2 separate regions of the Homo sapiens genome follow, and region 2 is linked to region 1. The links are contacts of gene promoters, found by promoter capture Hi-C in blood cells and fetal thymus (Javierre and others, 2016). All regions are on one chromosome and are shown on one strand. The core of a region is centred on a gene start or on the middle of the fragment in contact, and the rest is flanking DNA. Distances in the headings are between cores, read along the strand shown.

Region 1 (5,003 bases), core at 120-2,619:
CTCAGCTTTGATACACTTTTGCCCTGTATTCTCGGGTAAGTCACTTAACCTGGCAAAACCTCACTTTCCTAATTTCTAAAATGGAATAACAATACCTGTTTTGCAAGTTTGTTCTGAGAATGAAAGATACTATATCCGGTGTTTCGCACCTTTATAAAGCAGGAATGTCCTTAGGCTTGTGCACTTTTATAGTTCAGCCTTTCTTAGTGGGGACGTACTGCCCCCTAGGGGGAATTCTGGAAATATATGGGGGTGGGGAAGCTGTTTCCCCAAGATTCAGAGGCATGAGGTTTACAGGTGGTTGGGGCCTGAGATGGTAGGATTCTGCGATTCGAGAGACAGTCCCGCACAATAAAGGATTACCCCGCGGCCCTACAATCTTGGAGAGTCTTCCTATACATTCCTGTGCGTGGAAAAATCCGTTTGTGGCTAGAACCAAACTCTATTTTACATCGAAATGCTAAGTATTTTTGCAGTTTTAATGAACACTTCTTTTTTTTTTCGAGGAATGCAACTACATGTAAATCAAGGCTTGATTGCACTTCGGTTTGGAGGTTTACCAAGAATTGTTCACCATTTGGGAAAACCACGCGCTTCACTGGCCACGCTGCTCCTGGTCCCGGAGACCCAACAATCTGCATTTGCTGCCGTCACGTTCAGGCGACTCCCCAGGCGCGGCTACTGGCTACTTCTCTACATTTTCCAAGGGTAGTAGTGCCAAGCATTTTCAGATTGAAATATGTACTTTCTTACTTATTGCTTTCCTTCTATTTCCTCTTTATGCTACAGTTAGGGCATAATACAGTTTTGTTGTTGTTGTTAATGGGGTGAGCAGGGGGCTTGTTTTCGAATAATTTTACGTCAGGGTGGGAAGTCGGTACTGGGTTGCAGGGGGCTGGGAACCAGCTCCGCAGCCAGGAGAGGCTGCAGACACCGGAGGATCGGGTTCTGAGAGAGACGCATACGGACTTGGGGCCGGGGGTGACTCGCCGGGAACTGAGGGCCCGCGACCCTCCCGCCCAAGTGGCACCAAAGGGTGGAAGCCCCCAAATTAGGAAAATTCCTTCTCCCCTAGGGCCGCCCCTGGAAGCGGCCGCGGGTGAGTGGCAAGACGCTTACCCGTACCCGACCTCCGCGTGTGGAGCGTTGCCATAGAGACCGACGCGCCCTGGACGCTACACCCACACAGCCCAGGACGCTAGGCCTTTTCTGGGCCGCCCCCGCCGCCCCAGGCCGAAACTCCATCCCTTTCCCCCACCCTGCCGAGCTCCCGAAGCCCTGTGGCGGCTCCGGGCAAGAACTAAGGGCGGCCCCTGCAAGCGTACCTGCTCCGCCGGCTCCGCGGGGCCAACGAAGCGTCCCGGAAGGATCCGGGTTCCCGGGGCCGCTGCGCCTCCCTGCGGCCGGGGCGGAGCCGCGCAAGGAAACGCGGGCGGGGCGCGGGTCTGGAATGGCCTGGGGACCAGTCCACCTCGAGGCAGGGTCAGGCGCCAGGGAGTTTGGAGACCCGGCAGAGTCACCCCGCAACCGTCCCGTTGCCTTGGGTCGGGATTCCTTTGCTTTGCAGTCTACAGTAGCGCTCCCCGCTCTTGCTTAAGGTGCACCAGACGCTTCGCAAACGTTCTCTCTTTTCTTTACAACCCGTCAAGGCAGTAGTCTCCCAGTTTTACAAATGAGCTAAACTGATACAGGAAGAGTGTTTCTTGTACAAGGTCTCAAATATTGCCAAAAGGTGGACGTGAGACTGGAACGGCTTCCTACTCTTTGGGCCACAGCGGCGGCCTGCCAAGGGACTTTCTAACGAAACCGGCGCTGCCCAAGCGTCTGCACTCACGCCCAGTGCTCATCCCACCCTGCCCCATTCTGGATTTGCACATCAAGCTGCTGTCTAAAATGTTTAAGTAGTTGAAAAAAATGTAATTTTCAGCAATTGTAAATAGTGACGCAAGTTAAATATATCCAACTGAATCGAAACACTACAGTAATATGGTACCCTCCATCGTCCACCTCACACACACACACAAAAAAAACCCACAAAAAACTCTTAAAAATCCTAAGTTTACATCATTACTCTTCCTTCTTAAAATCATCTCTCCGCCGCCCCCTCCCCGTCCCTGCCACAAAAAATTTCTTCTTCTTGTAAGCACTCTAGTCAAGTTGGATTAGGGCTGAACTAAAGGCCTCATTTTGATCTAATTGCATCTTTAAAGTCTCTGTCTCCGAATATAGTCTCATTATTAGTTATTGGTGTTAGATTTCAGTGTGTGAATTGGGGGTGGCCGCGGCGGGGGTGAATGCAGCCCGTAGCAGGAGTCCAAAAGTTGTTTAGCAGTTGGAATATCCAATGTTAGTTTCTTTGGCAGTGAAATTCCCTCAAAATATTAGTAGGTATATGATCTACTTGTTTTTGTTTAATTACACGTGTCAGTGACCACACCCAAATTTCTTCCCTAGAATTCTTAGACATGCTTCATTAAATCATATCTTCATTCTACTTTCCTGATAGAATTTTACCCGTTATCTTTTTCATACTTGAAAGTCTTATTGATCATCCTATCATACTGCTGAAAGAAGTACAGAAATGGAAATTTATATTTCCTGCTCATAGAATTTTAGTTTTTCTGGATTAAATTGTTAAAATTACTAGTACTACACAATTGATCACAATAAAATGTATCACAATACTGATAATTATTAAATATAAAAAATAAAATTGTATTGAAAATTCATCTCTTTAAGACCTGGATGGGCTTCCCATGCACCGTTAGTTCCTGTATCCATAGATGAATGCTAACTTCTTGCTACAATGAAGTTTAACACTGATTCTCTTCCATTTTCTTAAGGCTGTAAGTGCTGAGAAATAAGTACATAGGAATGAAAAGTTTTGTTAAAAGTGTCCCTCAATTTTTGTCTAGTTGTATCTCAAGAATCATATAGTAATCTGTCACCAAAACTGGTTTATAATCATGAACTGATAATTCCATTAGTCTTCTGAAATTTTATTAAAAGCAAAACCCCATAAGCCATTCTGATTTTGAAAAGGATTTATTATCCAATACTTATCCAGTCTCTCAGTAACTGTACATAATTTCAAGTTTTTTTTGTTTGATGGTTTTGAAATGTTTATGCCCTTGGGCAATGCCAAGATTGAAGATGACTAAGAGGTATGGAATACAGTATATATGGAAGCTGAGTACCTGGAAATGTCCTTAAAACTATCCATGCCTGCTTTAACTTGAAAAATCTTCAAGAGAGTAGTAAGCTAATTTCAAAGAGCTAACCCAAGTAATTTTGGGAAATGGTATTTGACTGGAAACTATGAGACAATAGGAAAGATACATAAACTCTGTACCTTAGTTGGTAAATTTGTTTCTCCCAGGGGTATGGGTTAATGATTTGGAAACTGCTTTACAAATAGACTAGGATTGAACAGCTAAGCAGATGGCGGATGGTACAAGCCAGTTTTCTCATTGTCAGGGAGAGAAGTTACAGAAAAGCGTGAGAAGAAGGCTAGAATGAACCTTGTAGTACTGGGTTAGTTGGAGACATCAGTATGGACCCATGCTTAATTTAATGTATGTACAGATGGAGAGATACAGAAATAACTGTAGAGATGTCTGGATGGATATACAATTATACAGTGTATACAGGTTAGTATACACATATATACTTCCTAGCTCTGTCTGCTGAGAGGGCCTAGAAGCAGTGACACCCCAGGAGCAATAAGCACACCCAGCACCCAGATCTTGGTTTCTAAACCAGTGGGAACCTTGTTGAAATGGATGATTTTGGGGCTGGGGCAGAGAAGATAAAGATGAGTCTGGACCATCTTGTAGTGCCAGAAAGGAAGTGCTCCAAAAGAACCAGCGCACCTCAAAGGGACACAGGAGGTGACCTGAAACAATTCCCAACGGCCAAAGCTAGAACAATTTAAGCAAGAAAACAAACGACTTATTATTGGATTATACTCCCACCCCCAGAGGTGGAGATTAATTCCTTTGCATTTGACTATGAGCTGGAGTGTGTGACTCACTTATAGTGAACACAGCATGAACATGGAAAATTATGAAGTTGATAGTGAAGAGCCTGGCAGACACTGCCTTCATCAAGTGATCAAGGTGAACGACACCAGGAAGAAGTCATGCTGATGCTCCCTGAAATGATGTGATGAGAAGGGCACTTCACCTTTGTGATTTTCCCCAAAATCCATAAGCTTAGTCCAATTGTGAGACAAACCCAAATTGAGCAACAGTCTACAAAATACCTAAGCAGTACTCAAAAATGTCAAGGTCCCGAAAAACAAGGAAAGATTTAGAGACTGCCAGAGACCACTGGAGATGAAAGATATCTAAATGTAAATACAGCGTATGTGTGAGGTGGAGGGTTGGTTCTATACCACAGGTTTTACATGTTAAGATTTAAAAACTGTTAAATCTTTAAAAGATGTATATATTCCAGATTTCAGCAACTGCTTGTTAATGACCCTAAATGTATTTTCCCCCTACTCTTCACTTTAGCACCGTTCCCTGTATTTGGCTGGCTCACGTCTCTTTGAGAGGTGTTGAGCGAAGCCTGTTTCTTTAGTGAAATATTCTCATCTCACTGAAGTGCACACTATTAGATGAGGTTCACACACGACAGGACCCAGCACGTGTGCGCCATGCCTCCTCCTATTCGTTCCACATCACTCTCTAGTTTCTGATATTTACCATTAACTGCTCCTCACCTCTGGCCTCTTCCTTCCTCATCTACAGGACTGCCATCTTCTGACAAGATCTGCAGACCACCCCAAGCTTCCCAGGGCTGACCCTCCAACCCAGGCTCTTTTGTGCATCCTATGAGGGACTGTATTTAAGGACAGCTGGTAGTTGGTGAAGATCATTGGAATGATCTTCAAACTACTCAGAATCAGGTCATATTGAAAAACTGCACACATTACTAAATCATAATTAAATATATTTAATTCTCAAACCTTTAGGAAATGTAAAAAGAGTCACATAATA
Region 2 (6,742 bases), core at 2,311-4,810, 1.0 Mb before region 1:
CTTGTCTCTAGCAGAGCCAGAAAAGCATTGAATGCTTTCCTGCTGCCATGGCGTACAGAGTGAGAGGGGAAATCGCCAAGAGGTGGAAGCAACCCAAATGCCCATCAACAGATGCATAGATAACCAAAGGTGGTCTATACCTGCCATGAAATAGCACCCAGCCTTAAAAGGGAAGGAAATTCTGACACACCCTACAGCATGGATAAGCCTTGAAGACATGATGCGACGTGAAATAAGACAGACACAAAAAGACAAATACTGTATGATTTCACTTATATGAGGTGCCCAGAGTAATGAAATTCATAGAGACAGAAAGAATGGTGGTTGCCAAGGGCAGAGGAGAGGAGAAAATGGGAAGTTAGTGCTTGATCTGGACAGAGTTTCAGTTTGGGAAGATGAAAAGAGTTCTGGAGGCGGATGGTGGTGGCTGCACAGTGTGAATGTACTTAACGCCACTAAATTGTACATTTAAAAATGGCTAAAATGATAAATTTAAAAACAAATAGATTCCCAAGGCCCTCTAGAGGAACTCCCGACTCAAAGAGATCGGAGAATCTGGGAATTTTTCCTTTTAAAAAAAAAAGAAAGCATCCCAGAGGATTATTACCATCAAGGAAGTTTAGGAAAGTATTGAAGTCCGCGCTGATTTATAGGCACTCAATAAATGGTCACTCAATAATAGTTGCCATTGTTACTAATAATGTAAATGGTTTCATCTGTAGAGGTTCCACTTGAGAATTACAGTAATAATCATGGTTAATATTTGCAAGCACTGACTACGTATGCTGGGCTTTTACATGTGTCATCTCACTGAATCCTATAACTTTACCTATCAGGTATGATTATTGTCCCCACCACAGAGATGGGGACATTTAGAAGTGGACCTTTTTAAGTGATGTGCCCGGCCTCCTATATCTATTGTGTGATAGAGCCAAGATGTGAACGCAGAAGCTGTGTCACTGGAAGCGGGTATCCTTGCCGCATTATGAGAAGCTCCACCGGGGCAGGAATTGTGAATGCTCTTGCTCCCTGCTGTATCCACATTGCCCTTCTAGATATGTAGTGGGAGCTTTATAAATATGTGTTAAATGAGATTCAACCTTTTTATGATCATAAAAAATGGTTATCTGAATATCTGTCAAAGGAGAAATGCCTTGAGACTGTTTCCACCACTTCCCACCTTCTTTATTTGTCTCTAACTTCAGAGGTCCTGAAAAGGCACCAGATGTGGAGTTAGAAGACCTGGGTTCTATTTTCGGTTCTGTCAGTCATTGCTGTGTGATTTTGGGAAAGCCTTTGGTTTCTTCTTCAGTAAAATGCCCGTCATAGGTGAGGTGGCTCACACCTGTAATCCCAGCACTTTGGGAGGCTGAGGCAGGTGCATCACTTGAGGTCAGGGGTTCAAGACCAGCCTGGCCAACATGGTGAAACCCTGTCTCTACTAAAAATACAAAAATTAGCCAAGCATGGTGACACGTGCCTGTAATCCCAGCTACTCGAGAGGCTGAGGCAGGAGAATCTCTTGAACCTGGGAGGCAGAGGTTGCAGTGAGCTGAGATCACGCCACTGCACTCCAGTCTGGGCGACTGAGCGAGACTCCGTCTCAATAAACAAATAAATGCCCGTCATAATAAACCCTGACCTCTTCTGCCCCCTGGTGGTTGGGTTTTAAGGGTTCTCCAGCCACACAAGCTGTAGTGGTTGGTAGCTGAGCCCAGGGTTGAGAGCAGGATAGAGTTGCCCTCCTGCACTCAGAAGGGCGCGCAGCTGTCCTGAGGAACACTGCGAAGGATTCACCAAGCAGATCAGAGCCCAGAGACCTAGAACGGTGCCATGGGAAGTGTGGAATCATTCCAAACTGCATACCTCACTGGCGACCAAAGACATTTAAATTAAAACCAAACCACATTTAATACTTGTTAGACCAGACCTTGAGAAAAATGATACCTGGGGTTGCAAGGGTGGGGAAAGTTTCAGGGAAAGTTACTCTAATATGCTATTAGTGACAGCATCTATTGGAATAACTTTTGTATGGGGTATTTTGGAAATACATATCAAAATCCTTAAAATTGTGCATTCACTTTGATTTGGCTATTCCACTTCTAGTACTCTAGCCTGAAAAAAATTTTCTTTTTTTTTTTTTTTGAGACAGAGTCTCACTCTGCTGCCCAGGCTGGAGTGCAGTGGCGTGGTCTCGGCTCACTGCAACCTCCACCTCCCGGGTTCAAGTGATTCTCCTGCCTCAGGCTCCCGAGTAGCTGGGATTACAGGCAAGTGCCACCACGCCTGGCTAATTTTTTGTATTTTTAGTAGAGACGGGGTTTCACCATGTTGGCCAGGCTGGTTTCAAACTCCTGACCTTGTGATCCACCCGCCTCGGCCTCCCAAAGTGCTGGAATTACGGGCGTGAGCCACCGCAACTGGCCTCATAAATTTTCTACAGCTGAGAATTAGCTAAATAAATTACACTTGTATAATGGAACACAGCAGTTACTAAAAATGATGTCTTAGAGCAATAATTAATAATGTAAAAAGATATTCACAATGTAATAAGCGGAAAAAGTCCAATGTAAAACAGTATATACAATACATTCCCTTTTACGTGTCTGTATAATAAATATTTCATGTATTAAGTACACAAATGTGTTGTTTTGAAGTCATGTAGAAAAAGAATATTTAAATACACAAATATTTTTAGTATATTAAGAGAAAAAGGAAGGTTGAAAATATACAAATAGTAAATACGGTATAATGTAAATGCTGAAAATATATATTTACATATATAAAGAATATATATCAGAAATATATATGACCAGAATATATGATTAGAAAAGAAAGCATTGGGCTGGGCACAGTGGCTCACGCCTGTAATCCCAGCACTTTGGGAGGCCGAGGCAGGTGGATCACTTGAGGTCAGGAGTTTGAGACCACCCTGGCCAACATGGTGAAACCCTGTCTCTACCAAAAATACAAAAACTAGCCAGGTATCATGGTGCATGCCTGTAATCCCAGCTACTCAGGAGGCTGAAGCAGGAGAATTGCTTGAACTCAGGAGGCGGAGGTTGCAGTAAACCAAGATTGCGCCACTGCACTCCAGCCTGGGCGACAGAGCAAGAACTGTTCCAAAAAGAAAAAAAAAAAAAAGAAAGAAAAAAAGGAAAAGAAAGAAAGAGAAAAGAAAGCACTTATAAGCTTAAAAAATTTTTTTAAACCGTCATCTTGTTATAAAGTGCTAGCTCAGCTGTTTTGTGCTTGAATTCCTGCCCACTACAAGTAGATTTGACTGATAGATCAAGCTAGAGCCTTATCAATTCCCCTGAAATAACCTGTGACCAGTCTTAAAATTGGATGGTAAATCCTCAGGGCCTTGTGGATCTCTATTCTGATTATTTCTTTTCTTCAGTTCTGTTCTTGTTTCTGATTATCATGTTAGAAACAATTTTTAAAACACCCACTGTTATTCTATCCTCACCAATCTTGTGGTGATCACTTCACCGTCATCTAAAGTCAAACCAAGAGGCGGGGGCAGTGCATGCTGAAAACAATGGGGGAGAAAGGAGATGTTCTGATAGCATTAGAAAGATGGATTGATACTTGTGGTCTGTTTTGCCCACTGCTGTATCTCCCTAGCTAATCCGTTTTCTTTGATCTTATCCAGAGAGCAAGCTAAGCCAAAACCACACGTGGTGAATGATTAACCAACGTACAAGGCAATCTGAAAAAAGTTCCTCCCCTCCCCCAGGGACCCTAGCACTGCTCATGGTTCTCACTCTTGTTACAGGTCGGTCAGGATGGGCTACTTTTGCTGTGACAACAAATAACTCCAAACTCTTATTGGCTTATTACACAGATTTCTTTCTCAATCATATTGCATATCTATTGCAGATCAGCTGGGGGCTCTGCTTAGCCTCTTGGGACTAAGGCTGACCCAAGCTTCATCTCAACAGATTGATCATGGCAGGGGGAAGACAGCATGGTGAATCATGGATCATTCCTAAACCTTCCAAATGCAAATTACACACATCACTTCTGCTCACACTTTGTGGACCAAAGCAAGTCATATGGTCTCTTCAAATTTCAAAGCAGGTGGGGAAATACAATCTTAGCATGTGCCTGGAGGAGAGCCAGAATATTTGTGAACAGCCCTAAAAATGCCTGTGCATCATCACGGTTTGTGTATTCAAACCATTTCTCCCTTTTAGTTCAATGTCAGCTCACATGGGGCAGGAATAAATTCTTCTACATAGTTCAATCTGCCTCTATCACCTAACCCAATTCCTGACACACCTCAAGTACTTACTATTTATTGAGCGCATGAATGAATAATTTGTCCCACATAATGGAAACCACCTTTGCAAAACTATAACTGAGAAAATTATGACAGTGAAAGATATCAGACTTAACTGAGCCCATCTTGCTTCTAACCTCTAAACAGTCCTTGTTCATCCCTGGGCGTAGTCTGAACTAGCCTTCGGAAGGAATTTAGTTTATAGTTTAAAGCTAAACTGTCCCCGTAAAACAAATGAAAAGCTACCAGCCACCAAGTTAGAATAAGAGGGGCTGGAATTCTAAATATTACCAGCCATTATTCCGGAGGTTATAAGATTTGCAACTTCCCCACTTACTCTTGAAGGTAACATCACTATTGTGAACCTAGGATCCACCTTTTGAGATGTCTTTTCCAGTTTTTGCATTTCTAACAACTGAATAACCCCACCTGAACCTGCCAACCAGTTCTGTGGCCCCACCCAGGAACTGACTCAGTATAAGAGAACAGCTTCGACTCCCTACAATTTCATCCCCGGGCCAACCAATCAGCACTCCAGATTCACTGGCCGACCCACCAAATTATCCTTAAAAACCCTGATCCCCAAGTTTCCGGGGAGACTGATTTGAGTAATAATAAAACTCAGGTCTCCTGCACAGCCAGCTCTGTGTGAATTACTATCTCTCTATTGCAATTCCCCTGTCTTGATAAATCGGCTGTCTAGGCTGCGGACAAGGTGAATCCACTGGGCGGTTACATAATGAGGAGGTAAATGTAGGAATTTAGGTGCTTTCAGGTTGTGCTACGTTGTTAGTTGTCAGCTTTTCATCACTTTCATCTGCTTCTCACTGAATCTTCCTTTCCTGGAATCTCCTGCCTTTTACAGGTTGAGCTCAATTTTCCAATGAGAGAAATTTGCCTAAGCTTTGGAAGACAGTGAAGAGAGGCAATCCTCCTCAGGTCATGGGGGCCACAGCAGACACAAGGTTCACAGTGGCATCTAGGCTTCTTATCAAGCACCAGGTTTGGTAGGAGGTTTTCCAGAGTTTCTTGAAAATTTTCGCAGCAGTTTCCTGGCAAATGTTAGAGAACCACCCACTTAGGTATTCGGTCTGACCTTCCAGCTGCTTCCATGACCTTCCAGCTGGTTTCACTCCCCCAGCTCTTGTTCCTTCATACAAACCCTAATTCTTAAATTAAACCTCGTTGTCCCCATAACACACAGAGTGGCTTTAATGCAGGGTCTTCCTTTATTTTTTCTGAGGGTTAAATGAATTTTTTTTTCCTTTTGGTCACACATCAAAGAAACTTGTTACATTTACTCTGTAAGCAAGCCCTCTATGTAAGGTTTACTAGTGTTTTTCTTCTCAAGTCTTAGCTGGAAAAAGGGCCTAAAGATCGTTTCAGAGCTCTAAAGGTACAGTACCTGCTAGCAGCCTGCCTTGCCTCTCCATTCATTAACAGCCTCTCTGCTGGGCGAAGGTGCCAGTCTTATCTGTGACAAGTAAATTAGGAACAGGTATAGCTATAGGTCATAAATCTTTCAAGGTTTGCAGGAAGATTGGCAAACGTGTCTATCCTGACCTATAATTGCATTATCTTCCCACTAAATTCTCAGCTCCCTAGTTTGCCCCTTTCAGCAAAGCATGTTATTTTCTTCTTCTTGGAAGGAACTTGAGTGAAACTGCTACTTCACATCAAATATTGGTGCCTGGTTCAGTTGAGGATTTTAGGGCATAGATTATGCTTGTCGAGAATGTATATTTTATCCCTACACTTTTAAACTCCCTTTGAGTGGAAAATGGCTGGCCCTTTCAATGCTGTAACTCAAAAAGCTGATGGAGAGAAGCCACACACCTCTCTAACAGTGCTGGGTGGATTAATCAATTGCTGAAAGTGAATATTAAAAAAATTCAAGACTCAGCATGATTCTCAGTGCTTGTGAAGAATCACTCAGGTCACTGTGGATGCCAGCACCAAGCTCCACCCCCCAGTGTCTACGAATCAACATCTACAGCACCTAGGCTTATCCTTTTAATCAATCAGCAAATATTTGCTGGGAGCTACTCTGTGCTCATCACTGCCCTGGGCTCTGTGAGGGTTTTCCTTGGACTGTTCCTTCTCTGTCTCCTTCACAGTTTTCTCTTCATCTATCAGGTCATTAAATAAATGCAATGACAACAGCTAACTGAGCTCTTAATATGGTGACTGTTTTCTCTCATTTGGCTGACCATGCGAGTCTTCTCAAATGCACCAGGGGGCAGCACGTCTGCAGGATCAGCCCTGGTCCTGCTCCGTGTGAATAGCAAAGCAAGGACAATCCACGCCATTACAATAACAGGTGCACCAAGATGGAGAGGAAGCCTGTCAGAATTAGTGAATGTATGCAAATTTCATGTGCCTGTGTGCCTACGTGTGTGGCCGGGTGGATGTATATTCACATCTTAAAAGTTGTGGCAAAGGCATTGCCACTAT

What was found. The method cuts DNA at HindIII sites, captures the fragments that hold promoters and counts their contacts. A CHiCAGO score of 5 or more calls a contact.
Region 2: a fragment that was not itself captured here is called in contact with the fragment with the promoter of NEK5 in region 1 in 1 of 17 cell types (naive B cells); the score reaches 6.8 in naive B cells.

The regions. Positions count from the first base shown.
Region 1 is chr13:52,127,704-52,132,706 of GRCh38, forward strand. NEK5 (NIMA related kinase 5) reads right to left here and starts at 1,370. Exons shown (of 24, transcript NM_001365552.1): 1 at 1,326-1,370. LOC101929657 (a long non-coding RNA gene) reads left to right here and starts at 1,192. Exons shown (of 2, transcript NR_110306.1): 1 at 1,192-4,354; 2 at 4,755-5,003. It overlaps NEK3 (NIMA related kinase 3), which reads right to left. Exons shown (of 16, transcript NM_002498.3): 16 at 4,944-5,003. RefSeq lists an enhancer at 4,648-5,003. The HindIII fragment of the contact is 11,669 bases long and covers 1-4,211 here.
Region 2 is chr13:51,119,409-51,126,150 of GRCh38, forward strand. It overlaps a transcript of C13orf42 not described here. Among named protein-coding and RNA genes, the nearest start is that of C13orf42, 12 kb to the left of the region's middle. RefSeq lists a silencer at 6,430-6,479. The HindIII fragment of the contact is 741 bases long and covers 3,191-3,931 here.